Regions from separate parts of the Homo sapiens genome. Here regions 2 and 3 are each linked to region 1. The links are contacts of gene promoters, found by promoter capture Hi-C in human tissues and cell types (Jung and others, 2019). All regions are on one chromosome and are shown on one strand. Each heading gives the region's core, a stretch centred on a gene start or on the middle of the fragment in contact. The rest is flanking DNA. Distances are from core to core; before and after follow the strand shown.

The links. The method cuts DNA at HindIII sites, captures the fragments that hold promoters and counts their contacts. A contact is called where the count stands out against the background at its distance.
Region 2: a contact is called between a fragment that was not itself captured here and the fragment with the promoter of PRLH in region 1, in 1 of the 25 tissues and cell types used here (liver).
Region 3: a fragment that was not itself captured here is called in contact with the fragment with the promoter of PRLH in region 1 in 1 of the 25 tissues and cell types used here (dorsolateral prefrontal cortex).

The regions. Positions count from the first base shown.
Region 1 is chr2:237,565,281-237,568,046 of GRCh38, forward strand. PRLH (prolactin releasing hormone) reads left to right here and starts at 1,294. Exons shown (of 2, transcript NM_015893.1): 1 at 1,294-1,393; 2 at 1,732-1,895. The coding sequence starts at 1,294. The coding sequence ends at 1,895. The HindIII fragment of the contact is 10,563 bases long and covers 1-2,766 here.
Region 2 is chr2:238,007,737-238,010,662 of GRCh38, forward strand. All of the region lies in intron 4 of UBE2F (ubiquitin conjugating enzyme E2 F (putative)), which reads left to right. The region is part of intron 4 of UBE2F-SCLY (UBE2F-SCLY readthrough (NMD candidate)); the gene reads left to right. Among named protein-coding and RNA genes, the nearest start is that of UBE2F, 42 kb to the left of the region's middle. The HindIII fragment of the contact is 3,461 bases long and covers 1-2,926 here.
Region 3 is chr2:237,073,795-237,076,555 of GRCh38, forward strand. All of the region lies in intron 1 of COPS8-DT (COPS8 divergent transcript), which reads right to left. Among named protein-coding and RNA genes, the nearest start is that of COPS8-DT, 11 kb to the right of the region's middle. RefSeq lists an enhancer at 1,836-2,405. The HindIII fragment of the contact is 3,711 bases long and covers 1-2,761 here.

The sequences.
Region 1 (2,766 bases), core at 44-2,543:
TTCCCACCTCAGCACAGATCAGAGGAACACGTGGAGATCTATGTGGCTATGTGCACGCGCACATCTACACACATACATACACATCTACACACTCACACACATCTACACACATACATACACTCACACACAACTACACACACATCTACACACATACACACACATCTACACTCATACACATCTACACACACTCACACACATCTACACACGTACACACACACATCTACACACACATCTACACACATACACATCTACACACATACATACACACATCTACACACATACACTCACACACCTACACTCATACACACATACACTCACACACACATCTACACATGTACACTCACACACCTACACACATACACATCTACACACACTCACACACACATCGACACACACACATCTACACACATATCTACACACATACACACATCTACACACATACACACACACACAGCTACACACACATCTACACATACACACACATCTACACACATACTCACACAACTACACACACATCCACACACATACATACACTCACACACAACTACACACACCTACACATACACACATCTACACACACACATCTACACACATACACACAAACCTACACACATACACACATCTACACACAGACACATCTGCACACATACACACGCATCTACCCAATACACACAGACACACTACACACATACACACACATCTACACACACACACATCTGCACACATACACACATCACACACTCACACACATCTGCACACATACACACACATCTACACACATACACACAAACCTACACACATACACACATCTACACACAGACACATCTGCACACATACACACGCATCTACACAATACACACAGACACATCTACACACATACACACACATCTACACACATACACACATCTGCACACATACACACATCTACACACATACACTCACACACATCTGCACACATACACACACATCTACACACATACACACACACCTGCACACATACACACATCTACACACATACACACACATATCTGCACACATACACACACACAGGCACCCATGTGCACACACCACACCCTCTTGTACACATATACATACACAGCTGTGCACTCACATGCACACAGGCTCATGCACATACTTCTCTCTCACACACAGTGCTCACTCTACCCAAGGTCCCAGCTCCGTGCACACGCACCCTGATGCCTGTGTGACGCTGCTCCTGCCCCTTCTCCCCCAGGCCGTGTCCTCCTCATTTGGATCTCCCCTCCAGCGGGGCCTCCTCGGAGGAGCCAAGGGATGAAGGTGCTGAGGGCCTGGCTCCTGTGCCTGCTGATGCTGGGCCTGGCCCTGCGGGGAGCTGCAAGTCGTACCCATCGGCACTCCATGGAGATCCGCAGTGAGTGCCTGGACCCCTGTCAGCCTCCCTTACCCCACCCTGCCTCACCCCAGAACCTAGTGCAGCCTGGTCGCTCGAGAACCTGGCAGGAACGGGGTGCGCGGGAGGAAAGGGAAGTCAGTCTTGGTGCTTTTTTGAACTCCTGCTTCCCAAAGCCAGCCCACGCCCAGAAATGGCCTCGCCAGAACCTCTGGGTGCCTGTTCCTCGGGTGGCTCCCAGCATGGCCTGGCGACTGGGCTGAGAGGCCCTGCCTGTGCACTCTGCCCCGCTGCCTCTGGGAGCACAGCACACCCTGGGGACACGTGCCCATGGTCTGCTCCAGCTCTTTCCTTTCCAGCCCCTGACATCAATCCTGCCTGGTACGCCAGTCGCGGGATCAGGCCTGTGGGCCGCTTCGGTCGGAGGAGGGCAACCCTGGGGGACGTCCCCAAGCCTGGCCTGCGACCCCGGCTGACCTGCTTCCCCCTGGAAGGCGGTGCTATGTCGTCCCAGGATGGCTGACAGCCAGCTTGTCAAGAAACTCACTCTGGAGCCTCCCCCACCCCACCCTCTCCTCTCCTTCGGGCTCCTTTCCCTTCAATCCTAATAAAAGCTCTGGTCTTCAGTTACACATTCACGACTGTGTGGTGGTGACTCTGAAGTTGTTCCCTCCTGGGACATTAGACTAGAAAGAACCTCAGAGCCCAGCAACTTCTTTGGAAGAAAAGGCTTTGTGACTTGGCAGAGGGCACTTGGCACTGAGTTGGGGCGCTGGGTCTACCCTTGGTCACCGGCAGCCCACAGCCACCCCCACACCCAAGCTGCCCTGAGTGGCTGCCCAGGCTGTCCACTGCAGAAGGCCAGGAGGTGCCACGCGTCATACTCTGCAGGACACTGTCCCCATAGGACGGTAGCACAGCCCCCAGCCTGAGCCCTGGGCAGCCCCTCAACTTCAGTCCTTTTTATTTAGACTATTTTTCAGAGCAGCTTTAGGTTCACAGCAAAATTGAGTAGAAGGTACAGAAAGTTCCCATCCACCCCCTTCCCCCACATCCGCACAGCCTCCCCCATGATCAACACCCCCACCGAGGGTGCTTTTGTCCCAGTCGAGGAACCCACACTGACACATCCCCATCCCCAACCAGCGTATGTCAGAGCCCACTCTCCACGCTGTGCGTCCTGTGGGTTTGCACAAATGTACAACAACACGATGTGGCATCACGCAGAGTCGTTTAACTGTCCTAGAAGTCCTCTGGGCTCCCCCTACTCATCCCTGCACCCCGCAACCCCTACAACTGCTAGTCCTCTCATTGCAGTCTGTCTTGCCTCCCTCTTACTCAGGGAAGATGCATCATGGATTGTTTCTGACCCATGGCAGGGAGACTTGAACCTA
Region 2 (2,926 bases), core at 186-2,685, 440 kb after region 1:
TGTATTATGTGTTAATGGTTTCATATATTGCTCAGTTTGATATATTAGTATTTTGTTAAGAATTTTTACAAATCCTTACCTGTCTGTGAGGGATATTTGTAGTTTTTTTTGTAATGAGTTGCCTAATTTTGGTGTCAAGGTAATGCATTCTGGTCTTTGAATGCATTTGGGGAGTGTCCTATTCTCTGGAAGAGTTTGTGTAAAATTAGTATTAATTAGTTAATTGATTTTTTTTTAGACAAGGTCTTACTCTCTTGCCCAGGCTGAAGCACAGTGGCACGATCACGCCTCACTGCAGCCTCAACATCCTGGGCTCAAGCAGTCCTCCCGCCTCAGGCTCCCAGGTAACTGGGACTACAGATGCCCATCGTCTGTAGTGGGCAGATGCACTACCATGTCCAGCTAATTATTTTTTGTAGAGACGGGGGTCTCACTATGTTGCCCAGGCTGGTCTCGAACCCTTGGGCTCAAGTGATCCTCCCAAAGTGCTGAGATTACAGGTGTGAGCCACTGTGCCTGGCCTATTAATTCTTTATTCAGTGGTAGAATTCACCTGTGAAGCCACCTGTCTCTGGAATTTTGTTTTGTTGTGGTAAGATTTTAAGTATAAACACAATTTCTAATAGATATAGGGCTGCCTAGGTTATTCTTGAGTGGGCTTCACTAATTTGTGTCCTTCAAGGGATTTGCTCATATCATCTGCATTTTTCAATTTATTGATATAATGTTCTTAGTATCATCTTATCCTATCCTTTTAAGTTCTGTAGAGTTTGTGTTGTATCTCCTCTTTAATTACTGATGTTGTAATTTTTGTCTTTTTCTCTTGATCAGGTTAATGAGAAGATTGTCAATTTTTTGACCTTTGCAAAGAACCTACTTTTAGGTTCATTGATTTTGCCCTGTTGTTTTTTGAATTTTGTTCATGTCTTTGTTATTTCCCTCCTCTTTATTTCCAGTTTAATTTGCTCTTCTTTTTCTGATGTTTAAGATGGAAGCTTAGACAAACAGTAGTATGTTTCCATTTCCCAGCTCAACCTTTATATTATAGTTCTCATTTGTTTTACTTTTACATATGTTGTAACCCAGAATATATTATCTGTGCTTTACAGTCTGTTTTTAAAATATATGTCTCCACATACTTAACATTTATGACCCTCATTCCCTTTTGTAGATCTAGATTTCTCCTCTCTGTTATTTTCCTTCTGCCTAAAGAACATCCTTGAAGATTTTTTTGTAGTGCAGATTTGCTTGTGATGAATTCTGTCAAGTGTTGCTGAAGTTTGAATTCTTAAGTTGACAGTTTCAGCATTTTAAGGATATCATTCTACTGCCTTCTGTATTTTTTCCTTACAAGTTAGTGGTGATTCTTTGTTCCACTTTATGCGATGTGCATTTTATTCTCTGGCTGCTTTTAAGATTTTCTCCTTATCACTGCTTTCAGCAGTTTGATTATAATGTGCTTTGAAGTGGTTTTTTCTTTTTATCACACTTGGGGTTTATTAAGCTTTTTGGATCTGTGAGTTATAGTTTTCATCCAATTTAGAAATAATTTGGCCAACATTTCTTTAAATATTTTTCTGTGATCGTTTTCTGGCACTCTAGTTTATATATCTATATCATATATGTCTTACATATAGATTACTTCTACGTGTAAATTATACCTCCATTGGGTCGCAGGTCTTCGTTCACTTTTCTTTCTGTGCCTCATTTTGGACAGTTTGTTTTTCTGCAATGTCTCATTTGCTGTTAAGCGCATCCAGTGAATTTTTCATTTCAGATACTGTATTTTCTAGCTGTTGACGTTCCATTTGGTGCTTTCCCCGTAACCGTCCATTTCTTTCCTCATTATGTTCATGTTTTCCTCTAAGTCTCAGCATCTCTATACAATAGCTGTCATTGTGCCTTTGTCTGCAGCCCTGCATCCCAGAGTCCTGGCCACTCCCTGGTGCCCATGTCTGTGCTGCCTCCTGCCTCCGCTCACACTCACTTCCTCTTCTCCACCATCTGTCTCTGTCTCTTCTCTTTCAACAGTCTGATCTGAGATGGATCAGAGCCTTTTAAGTTTAAAGTTTGCATAGGATGTCACTTCCAGGGTGCTGTAAATATTGACATTTAAAAATGAAAGTCTTATATTACTCTTTGAAATGTTTCCAGTGTAGAATATAAATACCACAGATATGCCCACCACCACAGATACTCCCATCATCACAGTTTTTTGTTTTTTTGTTTTTTTGTTTATTTTGATGTGAATAAGCTCTACTTCACTGGCTGGAAAACCTTTGCTAGTTTTTCTCCTGGCACTCATGTTTTCATTCCACTTGTTCCCTTGAATTGCACCCTAATGTAAACATTTTTATGCTTTTAAGTATTTTATTTGTCATTTTTTTATACTCTTCTGTAACTAGATATACAGGTAGATAGATAGATTGAGCTTTATTTATTTGGTTTTTTTTTCGATACAGAGTCTTGCTTTATTGCCCAGGCTGGAGTGCAGTGGCACAATCTTGGCTCACTGCAACCTCTGCCTCCCGGGTTCAAGTAGTTCTTCTGCCTCAGCCTCCCAAGTAGCTGGGAATACAAGTACCCGCCACTATGCCCGACTGATTTTTGTATTCTTAGTATAGACGGGTTTCACCATGTTGGCCAGGCTGGTCTCGAACTCTTGACCTTGTGATCCGCCTGCCTTGGCCTCCCAAAGTGCTGGGATTACAGGCGTGAGCCACCGTGCCCGGCCCAGAGCTCACTATTTGAAAAGTTCCTATAACTGTAAGACTCTTAGGTGTTAAACATTTGCTTTTGAACGATTGTTGCAGTTGTTATTTGTACAGGCTCCTGCTTCTGGTTTTTCCTCCTTTGTCTCTGGCTGCCTGTCCTCTGCCTCATCTTCCAGCCCCTCAAAGTGGGGGAACCTCAAGGCTTCACCCTG
Region 3 (2,761 bases), core at 7-2,506, 490 kb before region 1:
GAAGATAGAAGTAATCAGCATAAACAAGTAGGAAGTATTGCAGGACAGAAAACAGATGTCTCAGGCAGACAGATGATACTGGGGAGGGCAACTATAAAGAGAGAAGGGGACTCCTTGGAGGTCAACATGGCTGTCCTGTCCCTGGCTCTCCTGGCCCGGCCCCTGAACTGAGATCCAGGAGAGCAAGTTATGAGGGGAGAGCAGCATCTGGACATGCTTTTGTCCTCTTTGTCAGAATTGCCATGGGAGCTGAAAGCATCTGCCCAGCTGATATGCTTTGGATCTGTCCCGCCAAATCTCATGTCTGATTGTAATCCCCAGTGTTGGAAGTGGGGCCTGGTGGGAGGTGGTTGGATCACAGGGGTGGATTTCTCATGAATGGTTTAGCACCATTGCCTTGGTGGTGTTCTCGCGATAGTGAGTGAGTTCTCCTGAGATCTGGGTGTTTAAAAGTGTGTGGCATCTCTTCACTCTCTCTTGCTCCTGCTCCCACCATGAGAGACACCTGTTCCCCCTTTGCCTTCTGCCATGATTGTAAGTTTCCTAAGGCTTCCCCAGAAGCCAAGCTGATGCCAGAATCATGCTTCCTCTACAGCCTGTGGAACTGTGAGCCAATTAAACCTCTTTTTTAAAATAAACCACCCAGTCTCAGGTATTTATAGCAGTGTGAGAACAGAATCATACAGGATCCCACTGCTTGAGTCATAGAAGGCAAAAGGAAAAGAGCAAGAGTGGATGGAAAACAAGGAAGGTAAAAGCAAGGTGAGATCCTGTGCTCAGGGAATAAAGTAAAGAAAAGTGAGCACACTTAGCATTCATTCAACAAACATTTATGCAACGCCTGCTATGTGCAGTCCTCATAATACAGCAAGCTTCATTGAGATCACAGAATTAAAATAAAACTAGAAATCAAAAGCATAATGACCTGTTCTATATTTCCACTCACGCCGTTAGCCACGACATATGTCCTGACTCAGGAAACAGCTAATGAGTGTGAGAGCGGCCTTCAATGATGTCATGTGCCTGGAAGCCACCCTGCTCTAGAAGCACCATCGCTCTGCTCTCAGGTCGCTGCCTGCCTGTGCTCTTCCTCCATGCTTTATTTATAACCCCTTTGCCTTTGCCTCTACCACTGCCATCATTTTTCACAGCTTTTCTTTATTCCTCCAAATTTCCCCTAACATGTATCTGCCCTTAGCTCCAGGGCCCTTCTGAAGTTTTGCAAAAATGTTCTCTTTTATTATTCACTTGCCAACACAAGCATTAGTAAAAAGGAGGAGAAAAAAAAGAAAGAAAAGTGCCCTATTTTTAAAGTTTGAAATGTTAAAGTTGTCTAAGATTAGAAGAACAAAATCTTCATTGATTTTATAATATTGTAAGGAGATACTTTTCACCCATAATCTAGCTCTTTAAGCTTATCGTAATGTTCATTTGCATGTTTCCTTTCAACATTTCCCCAAAAATCTAGTCTGGGTTATGATATATAATAACCAAGAGGTATACACAATATTATTTTTCATGTTTTTTCAAAGTTATTTCAGAAACACTACTTTTACATAGACTTCATATTTATGAATTTAATAGCTATTGTACTTTATGCTGCTGTCCCATTTTTAGCTGTAGCTTATTTCCTCTTTTTAATAACTTCCTCAGGATAACTTCCCAGAGCCAGAACACTAAGTCCAAGGCTAAGTCTGTTTCATTGCCCTCATTGTGTATTGTTACCTGGCTTTCCAAACGGGTAGCATCTACTGCCACTGGGGATGACATTGCCAAGAGATCCATTGGAAAATTCGCTGGTCATGGACATCAATGTCCAATGGCAATGGTCCAATGGCAGCATCCCCCAAACTCCAGTTCCTCCAGAGGACAACTCATCAGAATTAGTAATCTCCTCTAGTCTGCTGAATGTTCAATGCCTCAGGAATAATAATAATAATAAATGCATCCCATTCTTTCCCTATCTGTTCTCACCCCAGTGACCCCTGCTCCAAGAGGCAGCCACTCATGCTGTGGGGCAGGGTTGGTTTCCACCCTAAGCAGAAAGCCCAGGACTCCTGGCCACAAGGAGGGCTGGCTCAGGGCTGGCCTATTTCTGCAGCTGCTTTCCAGCAACTCTGACACAGACCCTTTTTGGCAGAGCCATCGTCATCGCCTGGGGCCCATCTTCTAGCCTCAGGTCCTGCGGCCTCCAGCCAGGTGAACCATCTGGAAATCTTTCTCACTGATATCCATGAACTCTCCACCTCTTGCCTGCCTGCCTGGCTGGACTCTAAACCTGATACACTTCATGGCTGCAAATGATCTGTGTTTACTTTTCTTCTTGTGGGTTTGGCAGGGGCTAATGTCACATTCCTCTCTTCTGTAGGTGACCTTCCTGCCTGGGGCTTCCGGGGCTTGGTGACACATGCCCTGCAGCACAGAGGCCACTCTACCATCACTGGGGCCCCAACCACACAGTCACCAGACTAGGTGCGCTGAGTGTCTTCCATTTGTCCCTCCCATCCACTCTCCATGCTCTCCTCCCCATTATGCCTCAGAAGGCCAGCCGTATAAGCAACTGCTGCAGACTTCCTGCCCTCGGCTTCCGGCTGGGCTCAGCCAATGGGGATCCCCCGCAGGAGGTCAGAGGGAGAGATGGTAGGAAGGTCCTCTGAGTATTGATTCCTCACTCCCTCACTGCCTGGCTGGCCCTTCAGTGAAAGATCAGAGTCCCAGCCAAGCAGTCTTTGCTGGGCTCTACTAAATATTCCCTCCAATT